Regions from separate parts of the Homo sapiens genome. Here region 1 is linked to region 2. The links are contacts of gene promoters, found by promoter capture Hi-C in blood cells and fetal thymus (Javierre and others, 2016). All regions are on one chromosome and are shown on one strand. Each heading gives the region's core, a stretch centred on a gene start or on the middle of the fragment in contact. The rest is flanking DNA. Distances are from core to core; before and after follow the strand shown.

What was found. The method cuts DNA at HindIII sites, captures the fragments that hold promoters and counts their contacts. A CHiCAGO score of 5 or more calls a contact.
Region 1: a contact is called between a fragment that was not itself captured here and the fragment with the promoter of MMRN2 in region 2, in 1 of 17 cell types (activated CD4 T cells). The highest score is 6.1, in activated CD4 T cells.

The regions. Positions count from the first base shown.
Region 1 is chr10:87,501,124-87,506,110 of GRCh38, reverse strand. MINPP1 (multiple inositol-polyphosphate phosphatase 1) reads right to left here and starts at 1,218. Exons shown (of 5, transcript NM_004897.5): 1 at 559-1,218. The coding sequence starts at 1,195. MIR4678 (microRNA 4678) reads right to left here and starts at 2,230; the gene lies at 2,157-2,230. LOC112268064 (a long non-coding RNA gene) reads left to right here and starts at 1,277. Exons shown (of 2, transcript XR_002957094.2): 1 at 1,277-1,776. RefSeq lists enhancers at 939-998, 1,159-1,248. The HindIII fragment of the contact is 1,695 bases long and covers 1,429-3,123 here.
Region 2 is chr10:86,955,357-86,960,593 of GRCh38, reverse strand. It overlaps MMRN2 (multimerin 2), which reads left to right and starts at 2,979. Exons shown (of 7, transcript NM_024756.3): 1 at 2,979-3,216. The coding sequence starts at 3,053. SNCG (synuclein gamma) reads right to left here and starts at 1,995. Exons shown (of 5, transcript NM_003087.3): 1 at 1,776-1,995; 2 at 920-961; 3 at 466-593. The coding sequence starts at 1,896. RefSeq lists enhancers at 1,106-1,705, 4,708-5,237. The HindIII fragment of the contact is 12,184 bases long and covers 1-5,150 here.

The DNA.
Region 1 (4,987 bases), core at 1,027-3,526, 550 kb before region 2:
ACACAAAGGCTTGAGATCAGGTTCCTAAAACAGGGTGTAGGTCTAAAACTGTCATCTGAAAAAGATGATGAGTTTAAAAAAAAAAAAAAAGAAAGAAGGAAAAACTAGTATCGGAAGCAAAGCCCGAGGAAGAAAATTCTAGATTCTGTTTTTTAAAACGTGCGCCCAATTGTGAAACTAGACGCCAGGGAAGGGGGAAGGGATGGGTTGGCGCTCGAAGGGGCAATTCAGTTTGGGAACGGGAGCGCAAAAATTGCGGGAGACCTCGTCTGTCCCCTTTCCTGTTGGATCCCCAACTCTACTAAAGCAGGCAGCGAGTACAAGGTGCTGAATTTACACCTGATGAATTAATAAATGAACATACGTGTAAGGGGAAAAAGAGATAGCCAAGTCTGTAATATCCCTCGACAGGGAGGACGTAGCCCGAGGGATGATGGCTTGGGAAAAGAGGAAAGAGAACTGGGGGGCATCGGAAAAGCCCAGGGTCTGGGGGAGGCGGGAGAGCATCCAGGGCGGGTGGGAGGACCGGGACAGCACACGGGCCGCCCGGGGGGTCACCTGCGACGTCCGGCGGCGGCAAGCCAGGGTGGTAGTGCTGCCACAGCCCCTGCAGGAAGGCGGCGCTGCTATCCATGCAGCGGTGCTTGGAACTGGTGATGAGCCGCAGGCGGCCGTAGTTCTCACGGCTGAAAAGGGCCGGGAAGAGCGAGGCCAGACGCAGCGCCAGCTGTCGCATATCCTGCCGTCCCTTCTCTACTAGCTGCCCGTCCATCCAGTCCGCGTACCACAAAGGCCAGTCGGCCAGCGCTGCACCCAGGTCGCGGCTGCCGGTACTACTAGCCCCGCCATCCCTGGACCCGCGGGCCTGCAGCAACCCGTGCAGCTGCCTCAGCTTGCGGATCTGTTTGACCGTGGGGTAGCGGGTGCCGTGGCGAATGAGGGCGACCAGCTGCACCGGGGTGCAGGTCCCCTCCAGCAGCTCAGGGTCCCGCCACGGAGCCTCGGGGCCCGACAATAGCACGGGGTTGACATCCTCGTAGCGAGTCTTGGTGCCGAAATAGGGGCTGAGCGACGAGGCCACCGGGTCCCTCGGCTCTAGAAGAGAGCAGCGCGCAAGCGACGAGAGCAGCGCCGCAGCCAGGGCCGCGGCAGGCGCTACGGAGGTCCGGAGGAGGCAGCCGGGCGCGCGTAGCATCGTCGGGACGGTCAGTGGAGTGCGCCGAGCCAGCTGCAGATGCCCAGCTTCCGGCTCCGGAGGGCAGGGGGCGGGTCTGGAGGGCGCTTCCGGCCGGCGGCCCTCGGGATGCGCTTCGCTGTTCTCTAGGAGGTACCAACCTCTGGCGGTGGGTCTTGCGTCCCGGCGGAAAGCTCCGAGGAGTCCTGTAGACTTGTGGCTCGGGTGGAGCCGGCGGAAAACCCCGAGAAGCTTGAGACAGCCGTGGCTGAGGTGGAGCCGGCGTCGCTGCCCTGGAGCGTGGGCGAGTTTCCTCTTAGCCGGAGCTTCAGGGATTGACTCAAAGACTCCTCCGCTTTTTTAGTTGTTTTGGGTGTGAATACAGCCCGGACTAAACCTTAGTCGCCTAGACTAAACCTTAGCCTCCCAGGCTGCCAAAACAGCACAGCTTTTACAGATGACTCTTACATCACCATCCCTACTCTGTGATACTGTGTTTTTCAAAGTTTAGTGCCTGAACCATCAGCATGAAATCTGCCTGAGACGGTTGTTGAAAATTCACATCGCTGGGCCTTGCGGCAGGATGCCTCTTGAAGCCCAAGGTTTTTGTTTCGTTTTTTTCCATTTGAGTTTGAAAATAAACAGGATACAGTAAAGCAGAGAACTTGGAAAGGGGCTTACATTCTGCAGGAATTTAAGTCCTGAATCTTTGGTATAATCTTGACCTGGACTACCAGAGCTAACGCCGACATCAGTGAGACAGCACCCTAAAAGTTCTGTGCTTGTTGTTCCCGAAGGCTTAGCGAGTAGAGACATAGCAATCTAGAGAATTTGGGTGCATTGAGTCATGGCCCAACAGATTTACTCTATTATTAAGTATGAGCTAATCTGCTTTGCGAAGCAAACATGCTCTGTATTTACCACCACTCCAGATCCATACGTTCCTCCCATGTACTTACTTACATACTCAAATCAAAAGCTGGGTTTTTTAATAGGTTATTGCTCAGAATCTTTGACCCCAAAAATCATAAGTCTGAACAATACCTTGTTTTTTCCCACTTGAACTCCAGTTTATTTGCCAGCTGGGGAAATAATAAGTATTACAGAAGTCGTACGGTGATCCAGATTTAAGGAAATTGGGACCACGTTTTCATTAAGTTAGCTTTTGCTTCAAAGACACTATTACATTGCTCTTTATAAGCCCATCACCATCTTTACTCCTTTTCTCTTTAAGTGTCTCCTTGGTTTAGAGAGGTGTTCCTCTAAGTTTAGGCGTGCCTCTAAATGTTAACCAAGAAGAAACGGGGCCAGCCTATGAATGCTGAAAATTTGGAGACGTTCTGTGCAGGAAACCATCTTTAGGGCAACAGATGTTCTTTTCGATATGCTATTTTGTAGCATGTCAATGCCTGAATATTCATGGTCAGTGATATTTTTGTAGAACTTTGCTCAAATTAGCATTTAGTAAATATCCGCTCCTTCTTAAAATAGACATTCTAACCCGTATGCTCTATAGGCTGAGTCGCCTGATAATATTTCTAAGTGCATTCAGCGAGCATTTGTTCCAGGTTCATCTCACTGTATTTTGCCTAATACATATGCTTACTAATAACTTCTCACACCCAATCTTTTGAGTCCTAGGGGTTACCAAGTGTTCCCAAAGTCATTATTCACTTCTTCCTTATGAAGCAATCTTTAGAGACTCCACTTACAAAATGTATGGCACAGTACACATTTTTATACATGAAATTTGCCCCTAGTTTGATTTTATTTTCCTTATCTAATTCCTCATCAATTAATTTTATCCTGTTTTATACACTTAGGTATATCAGCTCCTAATTATTTTGATGTTATGCCAAGATAACAATGATAAAGTAAAAGTAAGCAATGCCTCCATGTTTTTGGCTAGGAAAAAGCCAAATATAAAGAAGACGAAGAGTGCTTAAGCTTTGGACCCAGACTCTAATTAGCTCTGCTGCTTATTAATTGAGTGACCCAAGTTCTCTGGGCCTTAGTTTTTTTTTTTTATCTGAAAATTGGTAATATTAGAACCTATATCATGGGATTATCATGACAGAGATGATGTATTTAAAATCCATATGATAGGCCGCTATAAATGATATTTTTATCATTACTAATGTTCAGTGTGATTATTCCTGTGCTAAGATGCCTAGCTTTCTAGCAATTACATGGATTACACTTACTCCCACTGAACATTAAAGTGAATGACTTTCACAGGCAACACATGCATCAAAGATCATTTCATAACTTTTCTAATAATAAAAATCCACTCATTTCACTTAAAATGGATATCTTGTTCTTAGAGCACTAAGCAGCCTTTGAAAAAATTTAAAAAGGTCACAGGCCGTGCTCCTCATTTCATGCCAGACCATGTCTGAATTATCTGGGCACTCTGTAAATTGGATGCCCTTTGACATAGGTGCCCACTTGGTCCAATCATGTAGTACAGAGAAGTTTGCATAGTGCGAAACATGGCTATTCCTTTGCAGAGATCATGGGAACATCACCTCCCCTCATAAGAAATTGTGGGTATGGGAGCAATATATTTGGCAAATCTAACACAATACAAGAGGCAGAAAGGAAAATTAATGGTTCAAGGTCCTTGCAGAGATGGGAGAGGACAGAACCAAAAACACAGGTAGAGAATTTGATTTGGGCCAGAAGGAGATGAGACCTTATCTTCTAAGAGAATGTTAGAAGGATGGGTGAACATGGGGATAAATTTGTAGATCTGGCAGGAGAGAGTTCATAGAATTCAAGTCTGATGGCCTCAGTTTCCACAGTAACATAGGAGACAAGTTTGAAAGATGGGGGAATAGGAATTAAGTCTTGAAATGTGAAAATGGTTTGGATTTGCAACTGAGAGAAATGGGAAAGTAATGGGAAAGGATTGACAACTAAGAGGAATGGGAGAAACAAGTAGAAGTTTGTATGGTCAGCTCTGGAGATCCAACTGAGAATGAATTGCTAGTGGTTCTGCAATTTTATTTAGAAGCAAACATTATCTGTTGTATTTTTTCAGAGTGGAAAAGAAAAAAAGTTTAACTTGATGGTCCTACATTAATGGGTCTTGAGTAGAACTTCATTTCTAATCAATCCACTATACGAAAGGATAAGCTCAATTATTTTTGCCAGATTATCCATAGGATTTCAAAAATAGTCATTCAGCTTTTAAGATTGCATGGTGTCAGCCAGGCACAGTGGCTCATGCCTGTAATCTCAGCACTTCGGGAAGCTGAGGTGCGTGGATCACCTGAGGTCAGGAGTTCGAGACCAGCCTGGCCAACATGTTGAAACCCCATCTCTACTAAAAGTACAAAAAAATTAGCTGGGTGTGGTGGTGGACGCCTGTAATACCAGCTACTTGGGAGGCTGAGGCAGGAGAATTGCTTGAACTTGGGAGGTGGAGGTTGCAGTAAGCTGAGATCACGCCATTGCACTCCAGCCTGGGCAACAAGAGTAAAACTCCATCTCAAAAAGAAAAAAAAAGATTACATGGTGTCATATATAGTATTTTAAGTTAACAGCCATCTACTTTACTTTTAAAGAGGTTACTAAGATAGTTTTCTGGGGATGAAACAATAAAGGAAAGGAAACAGCTAAATTCTGTAGGGAAACAGCAAGGCTCTCTATGTAAGCATATACAATACTAAGAACATGGTCTCAGAAGTTAGACTTTCTGGTTTTCAGATTCCAGCTTCATCTCTTATTACCTGTGAAATATTTAAAAAATTAAATTATTTTGCCACCATTCTTTTTCATTGTAAAGTGGGGATAATAATACCTAGCCAT
Region 2 (5,237 bases), core at 1,730-4,229:
GCTACTTCCCTGAGGCTCCCAGCAGGAGGCAGCTGCCCCGCCCAGCCCAGGGAGGGAGGCTAGGCCCTGGGGGCGGGGCTGGTGCTACTCAGCCCCCGGCCTGGTGACCACTGCCCGGGAGGCTGCCTGTCACCGTGTGGGATCCTGTTTTCACTTATAAAATGGGGTGTCTCCTAAGTGCTGAGAGCCGTCCGGAAGATGTGGTTTTGAGCCTCACTTTCCTTGTCTATGAGATGGGCTCCCAAGTCCCCCGAAGGGGTGGTTGTGGTGATTCCAGACCCGAATGCAGGTCGAACAGCAAGCATGGACCCCACCCCATGCCGGCGCTCAGTGGGTACTGAAACTGAAGCCAGCCGCAGCCCCCCGTGTTGTTTCCTGGGGTGTGGAGTGGAGTGATGCCGCCTCCGCCCAGCAGCCTTTCTGGGCCCAGGAGAGGACTGGGCAGGTCTGAGGGCCGGGGCTCACCTTGCGCACCACCCCGGAGGTGACCGCGATGTTCTCCGCCTCCTCCACGGTCTTGGTGGCCACAGTGTTGACGCTGCTCACCACAGCCTCGCTCACGGCGTTGGCCTGCTCCTTGGTCTTCTCGGCCACTATGGGAGGACACTGGCTGGCCTCCACCCCAGCCCCAGCCCCAAGGCAGGCCTGCTGGAGTCAGGCTCGCAGCCCCTTCCCAGGAGCTCAGAGCCCTGGCCCTGCTGGGACCCTCCCCTGCTCCCTCTGACTCCAGGGCACCTCTGATGCTGGTGGGGGTAAGGAGACGCCCACCCTAGTTTAGCCTCATGGTCTGCAGGGGTCTGTAGGGCTTGGGACCCCAGTTGGGGGTAAGGCAGGACTCTAGGTTTGAGCCCCAGCACTAGGATGCAGGAGCCCCAGGGGTCCTATCCCCCATGTGTCCCCTGGCCCTGGGGCTTCTCACCTGAGGTCACGCTCTGTACAACATTCTCCTTGGTCTTGGCTCCTGGGGAGGAAATGGAGCTGTCAGCCCAGACCTCCCTCGAGGTGTTGGGGGCGGTCAGGACAAACACAACAGAACAGCTGGACAAACTGTGGGGTCGGTGGGGGGGTAAGGATGGTGTCTGGGGGCCGGCGGCCCCTTCAGAGGGCCTCTTCCTGCTGTGTCTGGAAGAAGTGGATGGATGGGAAGGGGACAGGACAGAATGTGGGGGACAAGAGAGAGCAGGCCTGAGGTAGGGACACTGGCTAGACCCAGGGTCCAGCCCCTGCCCGGGTGTGGCCGGGCCTCAGAAGCAGCAACAGGACAGGATGGGCCAGAGCTGAGTCATTGGCTTGACCTCCCCTTCCTCCTCTGGAGAGTGCCAGGAGAGGATGCGGGGGAGGGAACACTGAGCCTAGGTTTCATCCCCCAGCCTGCCCCTTCTCTCTGGGGAGGGAGGGGATCCGTGACCTGGCTGTAGCCGCTCCCGTGTGGAGAGGGTGGGGGCCACCTGAGCACAGGCTGCTCATGGCTTCAGGGGCTCCAGGCTCAGGGGAGGCTGGTATGCTTGGGAATGTGTGTGTGCGTGCACAGACAGGTAGCCAGCCCTGTCTGCGGTCTCTGACACCCAGAGGCCCCGAGGAGGCCAAAGACAAACACACATAGGTGTGCACAGGGCATTGTGGGTGCTCCAGGGTCTGGAGACCCCACCTTGATAGCCAGGGCCTCGCCCCCTCCCAAAATGCCTCCCTGGGGCTGGGGAGTAAGGTCTGGCGAAGGTAACTGGGCACTCACCCTTTGGCCACCACACTGTCCCACCCTGCCATGCCCCACTTACCCACATACATGACCCCCTCCTTGGTCTTCTCAGCTGCTTCCGTCACCCCCTGCTTGGTCTTTTCCACCGCACCCACCACGCCCTCCTTGGCGATGGAGAAGCCCTTCTTGAAGACATCCATGGTGGGTGTGCAGGGTTGTGCTGCTGCAGGCAGGACGGAGCTGGATCTCCCTGCGAGCTGCGGGCTTGAGCTGGCTCGAGTGCTGCCGCAGCGGCTGTCCCCGATGCCTCCTATTGACGCCGATGAAATATTGATGCGGAGGCCAGCTGGAGCCCAGCCAGCCCTGCGTGCAGTGGGGGCGGGGAGGGAGGGAGGGAGGGAAGGAGGTTCAGCCTCACCTTCCTCCAGGATAGGAAGGCAGAGACCAGGCTCCCTGGGCTCCTGCTGGCTCAGCCCAGCTCTCCTGCCCCGTGCCCTCCATGGGCTGGAGGGGGCTGGCCACCTCCCAACCTGTCCCTCATTCATTTACTGCCCTGCCCACCCATGGGGGCAGCCCTGGCTGGGTGCTCTTGGCCCCAGGGGTGCTGTGTCTATGCTGCACCTGGACAGACAGGCACAGAGAGGGGAGGCGCCTTGGCCATTGTCCCCAGCTTCCTAGGTAGGGGTCAGGGCCACATAGGCCTGTTAGGTGAGAGCAGCCAACCTCCCGCGGCCTGGGCTGTGCAGCTACCCACCAGCATCCTGGATGCCGCTGGACCCTGGGCTGCCATGAAACCGGTTGGAGGATCTGAGGTGGGTGGGGGTGGGGAAATGAAGGACTTCCTCATGCCTTGGCCTCTGGCTGCATGCTGTGTGACCCCAGAATAGTCCCTTCCCTTCTTTGAGCCGCCCAGTGCTGAAGGTGCTGAGGAGGCATGAATTGCCCCCCATTTCCTGGCCAGCAGTGTGGATGGGCAGCAGGTCCCCTGAGATGGACCTGACCACTTCCTGTGGCCCCACCTCGAAGTCCACGCTCTTTTCATGGCTCCCAGGGAGCAGGTTCCCATAAGGATGCATTTGGTGGGGCCACCCCATGTCTACCACATTCCCAGAGTCCCTGAGCCAAGTCCTCAGGGACAGGAACTGGCTTGTGTGGTTGGCGGCCCCTGTGGGGCCAGCCAGGGTAGTTGGGGGGCAGGACAAGACCCACCGGGTAGGCCGGCCCAGGCCACTTCCTCTCTTTGTTGTCCTCGTATTTTCTTTTCCTCCTGAGATTTAACTTGAAGACAACGTCACTAGCAGTTTCTGGAGCTACTTGCCAAGGCTGAGTGTGAGCTGAGCCTGCCCCACCACCAAGATGATCCTGAGCTTGCTGTTCAGCCTTGGGGGCCCCCTGGGCTGGGGGCTGCTGGGGGCATGGGCCCAGGCTTCCAGTACTAGCCTCTCTGATCTGCAGAGCTCCAGGACACCTGGGGTCTGGAAGGCAGAGGCTGAGGACACCGGCAAGGACCCCGTAGGACGGTAAGAGGGCCTGGACCTTGGCAGAGGTCATGGAGTAGGATCTGAGTCCCAGCTCAGCTAGAGCAGAGCCTCTCTAGACCTCACTGGGGTCCCATCTGTGAAATGGGCTAATAGTATCTATCTCTGGGCCATCTGTGAGGCTGAAAAAGTAGTCTGGACTGGGTGTTTCAGGATCCACCTAAGAATTGCAGGGAGTTCCCTGTCGGAGCCATGGCAGGGAATGGGGCTTGGGGGGCTGGCAGGGAGGCACAGCTCCTACCATCAATCACCCAGCATGGGGCACTGGGGGACTGTGGCTGAAGCCATTGCCAGCTGGCCTGGCTATGCCTCCTGTTCTTCCAAAGAAATCAATTCTGAAAGCTGAGACCCAGCAAGGCTGCCCTGAGATTTTGATCTGAGTTCCCTGGGGACCTGACTCTGACTGCCCAGCAGTGAGCAGAGACGGCCCCCTGCTCTCCAGAGCACAGTCCAGGGCGCTCTGCCTCAGCGACCCAGCAAGTGGGCAGGATGGTCTTGCAACTGGACCCAGAACATAGCTTTCCAACATTCTATGTGTACAGAGCCAGGGCCCATCCTGCTGATGAGGTGTTGGGCCTGTAAGTCCCCCCTCATCTCCAACTGCCCCTCAGTCAGAGCAGCAGGTGCTGTTTACGGGGCCCCCAGTCTCAGGGCCAGGCACCTTGCCACGTGTATCTCAGTTCATCCCTCCAACAGCCCCACTTACAGAGGAGGAGCCTGAGGCTCAGAGAGGCTGAGGGGCTTGCCCAAGGCCACACAGCTAAGGAGCAGGATCTGAGTTTGACTTCAGAGCTCATAGTGAACTCTCTGCAGCACTTGGAGCCAGCCCCAGCCCCCAGATGCTCCTACCTCCACCCTCCTGCCCCCACACACCAGACCTGTTTGGCTAAGGGCATCTACATGGATTTAGGGAGTGAGGGGGGGGCCAACTTACACTTCTGTGCGGTGTATGAGAGCCACCATCGCAGAGCGGACCTGCCTGGGATAGGTCTCATTTGGCTTCTGAGTTGCAGGTTTGTTGGGTGCTTTCCTGAAAACAGATTTGACCAGGGAGGGGCAAGAGGCCCCTTAGTGAGGGTCTGGTGGCAGTGGCGTGGGGAACAGTGGCTGAGCAGTTGGCCATGGAGAAACCTCATTCCCGCCTGCCCCCAACTCTGCTCAGGGCTGGGAGGTGCAGGTGATTCTCGGTGGTGGGGCGGCAAGGGGAGCAGGGGGCGGGGGAGGGGCGGGCTGGATCCAGCCACTCCGCTCTGATTTCAGGACCAAGGAAGCTCCACGCCTTAGTCTCAGGCCACCTTCCGCCTTTTGATGAAAGGGAGGATGAGAGGACCCGGTGGACGGGAGGGAGGAGGGAGCTGCTCCTCTTCCTCCCCACCCCCTTGGTTGTGGGAGAGACATTGCTCCCTTAGCCCCAAGGAGTGAGGGTTTGGGAACTGCTGATGGGCAGCCCTGCAGGGGCCCCGCAGTCCTTCTCTGGGGTTCTGAGTGGGAGGGTGCATGTACCTGGCCCAGGAATGCCCAGGTGTCCCAAGCCTGGAAGCCCCCTGCCTGCAGGGCTCTCCTTCCCACATCCAGAAGCTGCAGTCTCCACAGGGCAAGTCCATGCTCTCTCACCAAACCCGGATGGGCTGGTGAGAAAGGAAGGAAACGCGCGGCTTCCTGGGCTGATTACTTCCCTTGCTCCTGTGACCAGGGAGGTGGAAGCGTGCTCCAGACCCTGTCCCTGCAGCATGGGAAGGGGAGGCAGACTGGGTTCTGCTAGCAGGGGTGGTGACACCAACACCATCACAAGGAGGCTCGGCTGCCAGGGCCAGGCATTCTGCCCTGCCTTTGCCACTTACATCTGTTTCCAGAGCCCCAGGGCTAGGCTGGGCCCAGGATGCAGGCCCCAATAAGACCCTTTGCAAGGAGAAGCTTGAATAGAACCACTACGTCCTCAGACTTCCCTGAGGTGGAGAAGCGAAGGGGTTAACTGCTTCTTAGGTTGCCAGGGACCCCGAGGG